Linked DNA regions of Homo sapiens: region 2 is linked to region 1. Evidence: promoter capture Hi-C in 16 types of primary human blood cells and fetal thymus (Javierre and others, 2016). All regions are on one chromosome and are shown on one strand. The core of a region is centred on a gene start or on the middle of the fragment in contact, and the rest is flanking DNA. Distances in the headings are between cores, read along the strand shown. Region 1 holds the start of DNAJC21 (DnaJ heat shock protein family (Hsp40) member C21). Region 2 overlaps PRKAA1 (protein kinase AMP-activated catalytic subunit alpha 1).

The links. Contacts are between HindIII fragments. The CHiCAGO score rates a contact against its expected background, and 5 or more counts as called.
Region 2: a contact is called between a fragment that was not itself captured here and the fragment with the promoter of DNAJC21 in region 1, in 1 of 17 cell types (neutrophils). The highest score is 5.3, in neutrophils.

The regions. Positions count from the first base shown.
Region 1 is chr5:34,927,862-34,933,547 of GRCh38, reverse strand. DNAJC21 (DnaJ heat shock protein family (Hsp40) member C21) reads right to left here and starts at 3,989. Exons shown (of 12, transcript NM_001012339.3): 1 at 3,632-3,989. The coding sequence starts at 3,728. LOC124900961 (a long non-coding RNA gene) reads left to right here and starts at 3,867. Exons shown (of 2, transcript XR_007058731.1): 1 at 3,867-3,899; 2 at 4,415-5,686. RefSeq lists enhancers at 3,224-3,393, 2,860-3,505 and silencers at 3,534-3,733, 3,764-3,833, 3,844-4,313. The HindIII fragment of the contact is 5,598 bases long and covers 1-5,074 here.
Region 2 is chr5:40,767,879-40,773,564 of GRCh38, reverse strand. It overlaps PRKAA1 (protein kinase AMP-activated catalytic subunit alpha 1), which reads left to right. Exons shown (of 9, transcript NM_006251.6): 4 at 1,702-1,846; 5 at 4,062-4,149. The region is part of intron 1 of LOC124900968 (a long non-coding RNA gene); the gene reads right to left. Among named protein-coding and RNA genes, the nearest start is that of TTC33, 15 kb to the right of the region's middle. The HindIII fragment of the contact is 5,154 bases long and covers 1-4,928 here.

The DNA.
Region 1 (5,686 bases), core at 2,740-5,239:
TCCCAGCACTTTAGGAGGCCGAAGCAGGTGGATTACTTGAGGTCAGGAGTTTGAGACCAGCCTGGTGGTCAACATGGTGAAACCCCGTTTCTGCTAAAAATACAAAAGATTAGCCCAGTGTGGTGGCGCATGCCTGTAGTCCCAACTACTCGGGAGGCTGAAGTGGGAGAATCACTTGAACCCAAGAAGCAGAGGTTGTAGTGAGCCTAGATTGCACCACTGTGCTCCAGCAAGACTCCATCTCTAAAATGAATAAAATAAAATAAAATAAAAGTAAAACAAGTCAACTGGATATCCACAAAAGGAAAAACCTGAGTAGTATAAATTTTACTTTTAAAAGGAGTAAAATAAATAAAATCAGTTCTAGAAAGACTTATTTTGTACTAGATTATGTTTAGTGCTGACATTGTTTTTTTCTTTCTCATCAATGTATATCAAAAGAAATCTCATAAAGTTTAAAAAATATACACTAATTAGTTATTATTTCCTTAGCTGTGCTTCCTGAACCATGGAATTCAGAAAGCGTCCTTGCCTCAGGGTGGTACCCAGCTTGCAAGACAGCACCCCGCCTCCTGGCATTCACACCTTGTGCAGTCCCTTCTGTGTCAGCAAGGGTAGTCTGTGTGACCAACAGGAGATGGCAGAAGTAATGGTACCTCACTTCCGAGATGAGGTTATAAAAGACTGCAGTTTCTACCTTGGGCTTTCCCTCTCTCTTGATCACTCTGGGAGTGGCCAGCTGCCATAGCATGAGCAACTCAGGCTGCCTATGGAGAAGCTGGAGAAGCTCATGGGGTGAAGGAGGCCAATAGCCGGCAGAGCACTGAGGCCTGCCACAACCACATGAGTTGGTGGTTGGTGAGCTGGTGAGTTGGTGAGCTGGAAGCAGGTTCTTTCAGACAATGAGAAAGCCAAAACCACCTAGCAAAGCCGCTCCCAGATTCTCATCCTTAGAAACTGTGGGAGTCCATATAGTCAACATAGGCTTGCTGTTTTTGTTGTTTGTTGTCTTAAGCCCTGAGGTATTGGTAATTTGTTACACAGCAATAGACAACTAATATATTCAGAACGTAAAGCATTTTGAATTGACTATGGAGAACACTAAAGTTCGTTTTTTTTTTTTTTTTTGAGATGGAGTCTCGCTCTGTCACCAGGCTGGAGTGCAGTGGCGCGATCTTGGCTCACTGCAACCTCTGCCTCCTGGGTTCAAGCGATTCTCCTGCCTCAGCCTCCCAAGTGGCTGGGACCACAGGCGTGCGCCACCACGCCCAGCTAATTTTTGTGTTTTTAGTAGAGACAGGGTTTCACCATGTTGGCCAGGATGGTCTCCATCTCCTGACCTCAGGTGATCCGCCCACCTCAGCCCCTCAAAGTGCTGGGATTACAGGTGTGAGTCACCGCACCTGGCCGGAGCACACTAAAGTTCTTTAAGCTACAGCTCAATACTTCCCTTCTAAGAAGTTACAAGAAAACATGACAGCAATGTCTTATCTACAAATAGTTTTGCCGCCCTAGAACATGGCTCTTCAGGGCTTCCTGCTGCCCATTCTCAGATACCATCACACTGATGCCATAAATTATGATGATATTTAGAGAAGATATTTGCATTCAGTTCCTAACAGGTTTGGTTTCAAAGGAGTTAACTGATACTTTAGTCATATTTGCATGCTTCTTCCTAGCACTGATTTCTAATTAATCACCAAATCTGGTCATTTTTCCTTCCCAACATCTCCTCCCCTTGCGCTTTCCCCCTCCCGCTGACCCCAAGCCTGGCTTGGGCCCTTACCTGTCTGTCCACTGCGGACTCTCCCTAACTTCTGTCTCCAGCCCTCTTCAATCCACTAAGTTGCCTTCATAGTACTCTCCCATGGCAGCTTAATAAAACCAGCCACAACTCTCCCTTATTTAGCGAAGCAAATTTCACAGTCCTTGGGCTAATATTCAAGATTACAAGAAATACAATCTGATTTCAAACTACTCTTGTACTCAAGAAATACAATCTGATTTAAAATCACTCTTCAGAAAATTACATACGCTTTTGGTCACAGCATTCGCTACTTCATTTACCCTTTCCCACCTAGAAAGTCAAGGAATTCCGAACTTCCTTCTAATTCCTAACTTGATTTCTAACAGTAACAACCCAAACTCCTAAGAATATGCTTCTACACTAACCCAAACTCTAAGAATATACTTCTACACTATTTTTACATTTATTAATTTTGGCTGTATCTTCTGACTTACTGCTATGATGAACATCAGTTCATTTACTTCTGCTCTTCTAATATATTTATAATCACATTTTTTCACGCCTCTGTTGGTAAGCATAACTTTAAGTAACAGACCCACACCTCTATCTCTCACTCCATCACCATAGCCATTCCCTTTTGACTTTGGGTCCCTGACCTTTCCTTCCACTCCTCTCATAATCCCTATTTTTCAGACCTGCAATACACACCACCTTCAGTCAAACTGTCCCCCGGAACATCTTTTGTCCTCCACCATGCTATCCTCCATACTGTTGAGTTCACTTTTCCAAATTGCATTCCTCTACGATCCAGTCCAAACTCCTCTGAGAAGGGGAAGACTCAATACAAAATGGTAACTCCCTCCCTGAATTCCTGGAGCATATATTAGTTGTTCCATTAATCTAACCACCAATTATGTATGTTGCGATTTTTTTCTGGCAGTTGTATTTAACTTTTCATTTGTGTAAGGCAGAAAGTTGTTTTCCTAACAAGACTCTAAGACCCCTGTCTCAGCATTTCCAAATCTACTTAGTAGAGTGCAGTGACTTGCATATATTGGATACTCTGTAACCGTGTTTACTGATGAATGCTAATATGAAAGCCTCTTCATATGAACCTCAAAAAGCTGAAAGTCAACTACTCTCTTAGTTTCCCAGCCTGGAAGATCAGATTACTTCATAAAAGTCACACAGGCCTGGATTACAGACCAATGAAACATCCAAAGGAAGGATACTTCTAAGTAAACATACAAACTTTACTGGGGAAGCCGCCTGATTAAAACCTTCCCCGGCAGAATCATGTCCAAAGTGAAGTACAAGGTCTGCTTAAACAGCTTATTAAAAGAAAAAAAAAACAGCGAAAAAAGCGCATCCCTATTGAAAAGATATTTTACTAGCTCCCGTGTCTTAACTTCTTAACTAAGAAACGAAAAGAGCCATACATCAGGTTGAAGTATCTGGGATTCCCGGACGAGGTGGAGGGCAGCGGAGGAAAAACACCGAGAGGCTGCGCTGCAAGGGACGCAGGGAAAAGCAAGCCTGGGGCAGGTCTGAGTTCCGAGTTCCCGACTGCTCCCTCGTGGTGTCTGCGACCCGGTAGCGGGAGCAAGTGAGGTTGTTGGACTGCAGTTTTCCCCCTACAGTGGCGATGCGGGGCCGGGGTCGCGGGTATGAGGAGATGGGGTGTGAGCCGGGGTGCGCCAGGGCAGAGCGCTTCGCCCACCGAGACGGGCAGGGCGGCTCCGGGCACTGGCCGGGCGGGGCAAGGAGCTCCTAGGCCGCCAGGTCCCTCTCTGCTGGCTCCGCGGAGTCCGCCCGGGGGAAGGGAAGGTCGGGGAGGGCCGGGCTTCTCCGAGTGGCCGCGGGGGCTGCGGGACAGGTACTTACCCGGGTGCCATTTCAGGGCCAGCTTCCGATAGGCCTTCTTGAGCTCCTCCTCGCTGGCGTCGCGCCGCACCCCCAGCGCCTCATAGTGACACTTCATCGCCCGACCGGGCGGGCGGCCGGCGCTGGGGCCCGGGACGGGGTCGGGGCCCGGGCCCGGGCCGAAGCGGCGGCGGCGGCGGCGCTGGCAGTCCTCTCCGGCGGGAGTCCGCCGCCCGCACCGGGCCAGCCAGCGAGCCCGGCGGCGGCGGCGGCGGCGGCGGTGGTGTAGGTCAGTGAAGGCGCGCGGTGGCGGCAGACGACGCAGGCTGCGGCAAGCGGGAGCGCGGCGGGGGCGGTGCCGGCGGCCGCCGCTTCGCATGGGCTAGGGGTGGGCTCTGTGCCGGAAAGGGCCGCGCGGGAGGGGGTGGGGCCTCGGCGGGGTGAGAGGCGAGGCCCCGAGGAAGGAAGGCGGGGCCTTGGCGAGGAGAGAGGCGGGCCGCGCAGGAGAAAGGCGGGAGCTTGGCGGGGAAAGAGGCGGGCCGCGTGGGAGGAAGGTAGGCCTTGGCCGGGAAGAACAGGAGGAAGGCGGGACCTTGGTGTGAGAGGCGGGGCCTCGGCGGGGCGAGAGGCGGGGCCGCGCGGAAGGGAGGCAGGGCCACGCTGGTGTCATTGTGAGGGGCACAGATGGCGGTCAGTGTGAGTGGCAGCCGACCTGAGGGCTGAAGGGGGAGATAGGAGCTGGGATGGGAGAGGATTCTGGAAAATATCTGATTATAATTTCTCAATGGATCCCCGTTTTTATAGATAAGGCGATTCAGACTCCAAGTGGTCAAGTGGTTGGCTCAAGCCTCCTCAGCTAATACAGTAGCAGAATTCGGTTGGACTGAATATCAGGTTTTTTTTTTAATCTCTTTAATTCTCTTCAGCTGCCACTTAAGATATCTGGTATTGATCATCTTGACCAATATGCTTGAGAAAGGACAGTTAGATTATTTAAGCGGAAACAATTTAAAAGGGAAGCATCAACACACTTAATGAAAAGCCTTACCACCAACATGGATGAAATTGTGCTGATCTATCCATCCAACACACTTTAATCCTAACTTTCTGGCCTCTAATCCTACCTTTCCAAGATTGGTTTAGGTTAAGAAAGCAGTTAAAGGATAGTATTTAACTGGTAGGTTTTGGTTGATCTGACTATCTGCACAATTATTCCAAACACTTTGAAAGGTATCAAAATAATACCATAATTATTAAAATGCATTAATACACCAATATATTTCACTGTAATGTGGAATGTTTACATGCATCAGTTAGGTGTGGGTTGTATTTACTAACCATGTATGGTTAGCTATGTTGCTAATATCTATTGCACAGGGTTGGCGTACCCAAGCGGTTTAGTAAGGTTATCCTTCTCTTCCCCAATATGCTGCCCCCAGTAAAATAAAAAACCCACGCTAAGCTTCATCAGGTTACTTCACACGCCACTGACCAACCAACTCACTACTCAGAATTCATACACTTCCCTTTTTTCCAGAGGAAGATTCTACACAGTCTCAGTTAGTTGGTAAATTGGTAATGGATAAGGATTGAGAAGTCTGAGTTTGGGGGAGAATGAAACCTTTCCCCTCCTGAGAACAGAATTGGGATGGTGGGCGGGGGGAAGGGAGGGACAAAAAAAAAAAAAAAAACGGAAAGGGAAAGTATTTTTTTCCCTCCAACTTAATTTGGAGTATTTTCTCCCTCCAACTTGATTTGGTTTTGGATACAGCCTGTAGGAATCACTTACTTCTTTTACCTTCTGAAGTAAGAAGGATTTTTGCCTGTAACATTGTATAATTAAAGGTAACTATGCTGGATATAAATTTCAGTCTAAAGGAACATCTTGACCAGGCGTGGTGGCTCATGCCTGTAATCCCAGCACTTTGGGAAGCCGAGGCAGGAGGATCCCTTCAGCCCAAGAGTTCAAGACGAGCCTGGGCAACATAGCGAGAACTTGTCTCTACAAAAAAAAAAAAAAGCCAGGCATGGTGGCGTGGGCCTGTAGTCCTAGTTACTCAGGAGGCTGAGGCAGGA
Region 2 (5,686 bases), core at 1,102-3,601, 5.8 Mb before region 1:
CTTTTGTTCTTTTTGTCTTTATATGCCTGTTTTATTGCTGATGTCATTTTAGTGATGTTTCAAGAGTTGGAGACAAAAGATTTAATCTGTTACATTTAATTGGAAATGTATTTTGACTTTTCTAACCTTCCTTTATAGACATCCCTTTCTCCATCCTTTGTAATTGTACTTGTTACTAATACAGTATAATTTTCATTTTTGTAGCCTGTCTATTTTACTTTTTATATTTTGTTTAATCAAGTTTTCTCCTATTTTTTCATATTTGAACAGATACTCTTTTTTTTCCCCATGAACCTACAAATCTAGAAATAAAAGTATTAGAATGCTAAAGGATTAGTATTTTTCTAGAGGAATGGTATCTTATAATAGTTTCTTGTTTCAAAATAAATTACTGATTTGTATTTTCTCCCATATTATCCATGCCCTTTAAGGTGTAAGTCTGGTTTTAGAATGCTAATTTGTGACCTGTGTTAGAGAATTGCATATTGGAGTCCTTCGCCTAGAGGATTAATAGCTTATTTATTAAATATGACTTCTTGGGAGCAGGCATGTCCAAGTAATGGCTGTCACTTATGTTGAAAAAAGTGGTAATAATATATGGATACATAGAGAAGTTTAAAAAAAATACTTCAGGCTGCATGCAGTGGCACATGTCTGTAATCTCAGCACTTTGGGATGCTGAAGCGGTAGATTGCCTGAGCTCAGGAGTTCGAGACCAGCCTGGGCAACATGGCAAAGTCCTGTCTCTATCAGAAATACAAAAATTAGTGGGCGTGGTGGCATGTGCCTGTGGTCCCAACTACTTAGGAGGCTGGGGTGGGAGGATTGCGGGACCCCAGGGAAGCCGAGGCTGCAGTGAGCCGTGATGGCATCACTGCACTCCAGCCTGGATGACAGAACGAGACTGGATCTCAAAATATAGATAAATTTAAAACCCCGCCCCCCCAAAAAAACACAAAAAACAAAAATGAAAAGGTAGTTGCTATGTAAGATTTTTTTTTTAGCAAGCATATTAAAGATAAAATGCTATGATATTTTATTAAATGAATTAAGGTGTTTGTTGTTAAAATGTCTTCTATTTTAGGACATATAGCAACATAGTTGCTTGCTGGTTTATGAATAGTGCTTAAATATTACTTCCTCATGGTCTAAAATAGTGTCCCTCACCCCACTATCACTCACTGCACCTATATTTTGCTTTATTTTTCTTCAAAACAGTATCACTCCTTCTGACTATATTTATTAGTCTATTTTCATCAACTAGATTAGCCTTTGTTTTATTCATTGCTGTGTAATGAGTGTCTAAAGCAATGTGTAGCACGTTGAAGGTATTCAGTAATTTGTTAAAAGAATGAAAGAGTAAACATTTGCCGCTTATAAAAGGAAATATGCCAAATTTCAAGTAGATATTGAAATTATTTGAAATAACTCATGAGATATAGAGGAAGGCAAGCTGTTACAATGTAGTCATATGCAAATGATAATATTAGAAACTTGAGTTACTGATTTGGGTTCCAAGACCATCTTAGCATTTCTGTTTTGTGCTGCAGGTATCTCCTCCTCATGTCAAAAGTATCTCATAAGTGAAGTTCATTGGGAAGATTTTCATGTATTTTGACAATTTTATAGGTTGGAGAATTATAGATAGGACAATTTACTTTGAAAGACACACCTTTAAAAAGCCTCTCTAACTTTTCTTAGCTGGATGAAAAAGAAAGTCGGCGTCTGTTCCAACAGATCCTTTCTGGTGTGGATTATTGTCACAGGCATATGGTGGTCCATAGAGATTTGAAACCTGAAAATGTCCTGCTTGATGCACACATGAATGCAAAGATAGCTGATTTTGGTAAGGATAATTTTATAGTTTCTTAACGTTCATTTCTAATGTTCTTATAGTTTCAATGAACCTACCTAGAATTCTTCAGATAACTGTAAAAGATTACATAAAGTAATAGACTGAGTATATCAAAGTATTCTGTTTTGTCTATGAAGATACAAAAAGAAGAAAAGCTAAGAAATCATCTTTTCTTAGCTTTAAATGTCTTTATTACTATTATTTTATAGAGGCAGGGTTTCGCTTTGTCGCCCAGGCTGGAGGGCAGCGACGTGATCATAGCTCACTGCATCCCCAAACTACTGGGCCAGGTGACCCTCCTGCCTCAGCCTCCTGAGTAGCTGGGACTGCAGGCGTGCACTACCATGCCAGGCTGTTTTGTCTTTTTGTAGAGACAAGTTCTCACTATGTTGTCCAGGCTGCTCTTGAACTCCTGGCCTCAAGTGATCTTCCTACCACAGCTTCCCAAAGTATTGGGATTACAGGTGTGCACCACTGCACCTGGCTCTTTAAATATCTTTAAAATTAAATTTTAAACAACTTAAGTTGGTAGTATTAGAGAGACTATTTGAAAAGAGTATTATTTGTGAAAGAGAAGGTAGCAGCTTTATTTCCAGTATGTTCAAAAGAATCAAGTATGGAGAAGAAGGAAAGTGAGTGGGATGGAATTATTTAAAACCTTAAAAACCAGAAGTGAACTATGTGAATTTAATTATTTAAAATTATTTAAAACAATTTTTTAATTAAAAAAATTTATTTAAAAATTTAAAAATGTTTTAAATGATAGTAAATTATAATTTGTTTAAAGAACATTTTGATTGTTAAAAATGAATTTATTTTGGCTGGGCGTGGTGGCTTATACCTGTAATCCCAGCATTTTGGGAGGCCGAGGCGGGCGGATCACCTGAGGTCAGGAGTTCGAGCCCAGCCTGGCCAACATGGTGAAAACCCATCTCTACTAAAAATACAAAATTAGCTGGGCATGGTGGTGCGTGCCTATAGTCCCCACTACCCTGGAGGCTGAGGCAGGAGAATTGCTGGAACCCAGGAGGTGGAGGTTGTAGTGAGTTGAGATCGCCTGTCCGGCCTGGGCGACGGAGTGAGACACGGTCTCAAAAAAAAAAAAAAAAAAAAAGAATTTATTTTTTCTGTATTTCCTATATAAATTGCCATTGACCTTACTAAACCTAAGAGAAAAAGGAATCTCTTCTTTTCTTTAGGTTGGTTTTAGTTCAAATCAGATAACTTTTTTTTGTTTGTTTTTTGTTTTGAGACAGAGTTTCACTCTGTCACCCAGGCTGGAGTGGTACGATCTCGGCTCACTGCAACCTCTGCCTTCCAGGCTCAAGTAATTCTCCCACCTTGGCCTCCCAAGTAGCTGGGACCACAGATGTGGGCCACCACATGCAGCTATGTTTTTTTTAATTTTTGGTGGAGATGGGGAATCACTATGTTGGCCAGGCCGGACTCGAACTCCTGAGCTGAAGTGATCCGCCTGTCTTGGCCTCCCAAAGTGCTGGGATTACAGGCGTGAGCCACCATGTCTGGCCCAGAGAACATTCTTATAAAAATTTTCCTCAGTTTTGACTACATCTATGTATCTATATCTATAACTATATCTATTTAAATGTTCAGAGATTAACTGGAAAATGCCAACCAAACCTGAGCTGGTTGTTTTGGTGTTTTGTTTTTTTTTAAAATAGTAATTGGCTAAATTATTTGAATTTCTTATTCCTCAGTTGATTATTTTTATAGGGTGCATTTTTGAGGGAGCAACAGTTTCTTTTTGGAGTAAAACTGTGAGGGAACTTTGAAATTCAAAATTACTGTTTTTTTTTTTTTTTTTTTTTTTAAAGAATCAGAACAGGCTTAATAGGAACTTTGAATTTTAATCCTTCTATTCATCTGTTATAGATTATTTTCCCTAGTGATTTCTGTATTAATAAAACTTAAACATGGCAAGTTTTTTCTAATAAGCAAAATAACCAACAGCTTAATATATTTGTATTAAACTCTAACAGTGCACTAACTTTAAATGTTGAAATAGATTACACATTTTAGGGCATAATGGCAGAATATTTGGCTACAATAGACCATAGGATTTTGTTGAAGCAAATAACAAAATGATGATTTATCATTTTAATGCAAACTCAATTTTATTGTTTAATGGGATTTTAATTTTTGTCTTTGGGAAATCTTTTGAGTAGCTGATTTTGTGCACTTTCAGGTCTTTCAAACATGATGTCAGATGGTGAATTTTTAAGAACAAGTTGTGGCTCACCCAACTATGCTGCACCAGAAGTAATTTCAGGAAGGTAGTATTTGATACCCTGCCTCCCTCAATACATTTGAAATTGTCTTTTTCTCCTAGATTTTGTTAGTCTATAGTGTCATATTTAATTCTAATGAAAGGAAAGAAAGATAAGGCTTATTCTTAACCACATTTATATGTGAATGAGGGTTAAGGACTACAAGTCAACATTATATTAAAGTTGTTAGAAGAGAGTACATTAATTTTTTTCCCAGGTGGAAGAAATGGAAAGTTTAAAACTAGGGTGTTTAAAAAGTAGGTAAGACACTGGAAACTTGAATAATACAGAAATATCTAGTAGTTAGAAAAGGATTACTATTTACTTAGAGGAAAAATTAAACATGTAATGTGTAGCTTTAATTTTTTACATAGATGGCATTTTGTAGTACCTTTATGTTTCATGATAAAATGTCTTGGGGAACTGGGCTGAAGTAATCTTTAGACTTCATTTATGTTGAATCTTTGTTCTTTAAACCTTTTAGAGACTGCAATATTATAAGAATTTTAACCTCTCAATTTACTAACTACCAGCATTGAGAACATGAAGATATTTGTACAGTGTCGCTTTTTGAATAGTTTGGAAAACAGGAGAATTTAATATTTTTAAGAATAACTCTTTGTCCTTCACTATACTACTGAAATTGAAAACAGAAGCTGAAGTTTGCTAGATTTATAATGAACTTTTAATAACTTTTCACCCAAACCATGCTTATTTGTGTGAATGTTTTGCATCTTGATTAACTCAATGCAGAAATACTGTAGTATTTTCTATTTTTATAAGCTTGTTGGCCTAGACTGCTCAAAGAAATGAGATTTGTGTAAAAATATGGCTGTGAGTAAGGCAGGAGTACCTAATTTTAGATTTGTCAAGTTTCATCTTTTTTTTAAATATTAACTTAATGTCAAAAATTATTTAAAAAATTTTTAAAAAAATGGTGTTGTCTATCTTAATTCTTTTAGGAATAAAACAATTCAGGACATGGAGACTGTGGAAAGTTGTTATTTAAATAAATAAAAAGAAATGTTATAACTGTGCATATATGCAATGGGCTATTACTGAAATTTAATTTTTCTAGTTTGGATAAAGTCTTTCTTCAAGCTCTTGGTGTATGAGAACTTTTACTTTCAAAATAATATTTATCGATCAGTTCAGCAGTACATAAATTTAAAGAAATCCTTTTCCTGAATCCAGGCTTTGAATGGGTGATCTAACTAGTCTGCAGCTAGTTAAGGCACTTGACTACAATGCACTGCAAACGGGATTTAAAAACTCTGTGAACCAATTTGCCTGGCTTTCTTTCACAGCCTCAGGATCCTTTCACCTTGGTGTAAGGGGTCTTGTGTTATTGGGATTGTGGGCTCAGAGTCCATTACTAAAGAACATTCTCAGTTGATGAAATATCACTTAATCTCTCCTCTGTAACAAAAACCAATGGTTTTAAATTGAATAGTGATATGTTTGTTCAAGATTTGGCCCTATTGTCAGATCCCATCAGGGCCATAGTAAATAGTAGAACAGAATTTTAGCCATGGTGTGTAAT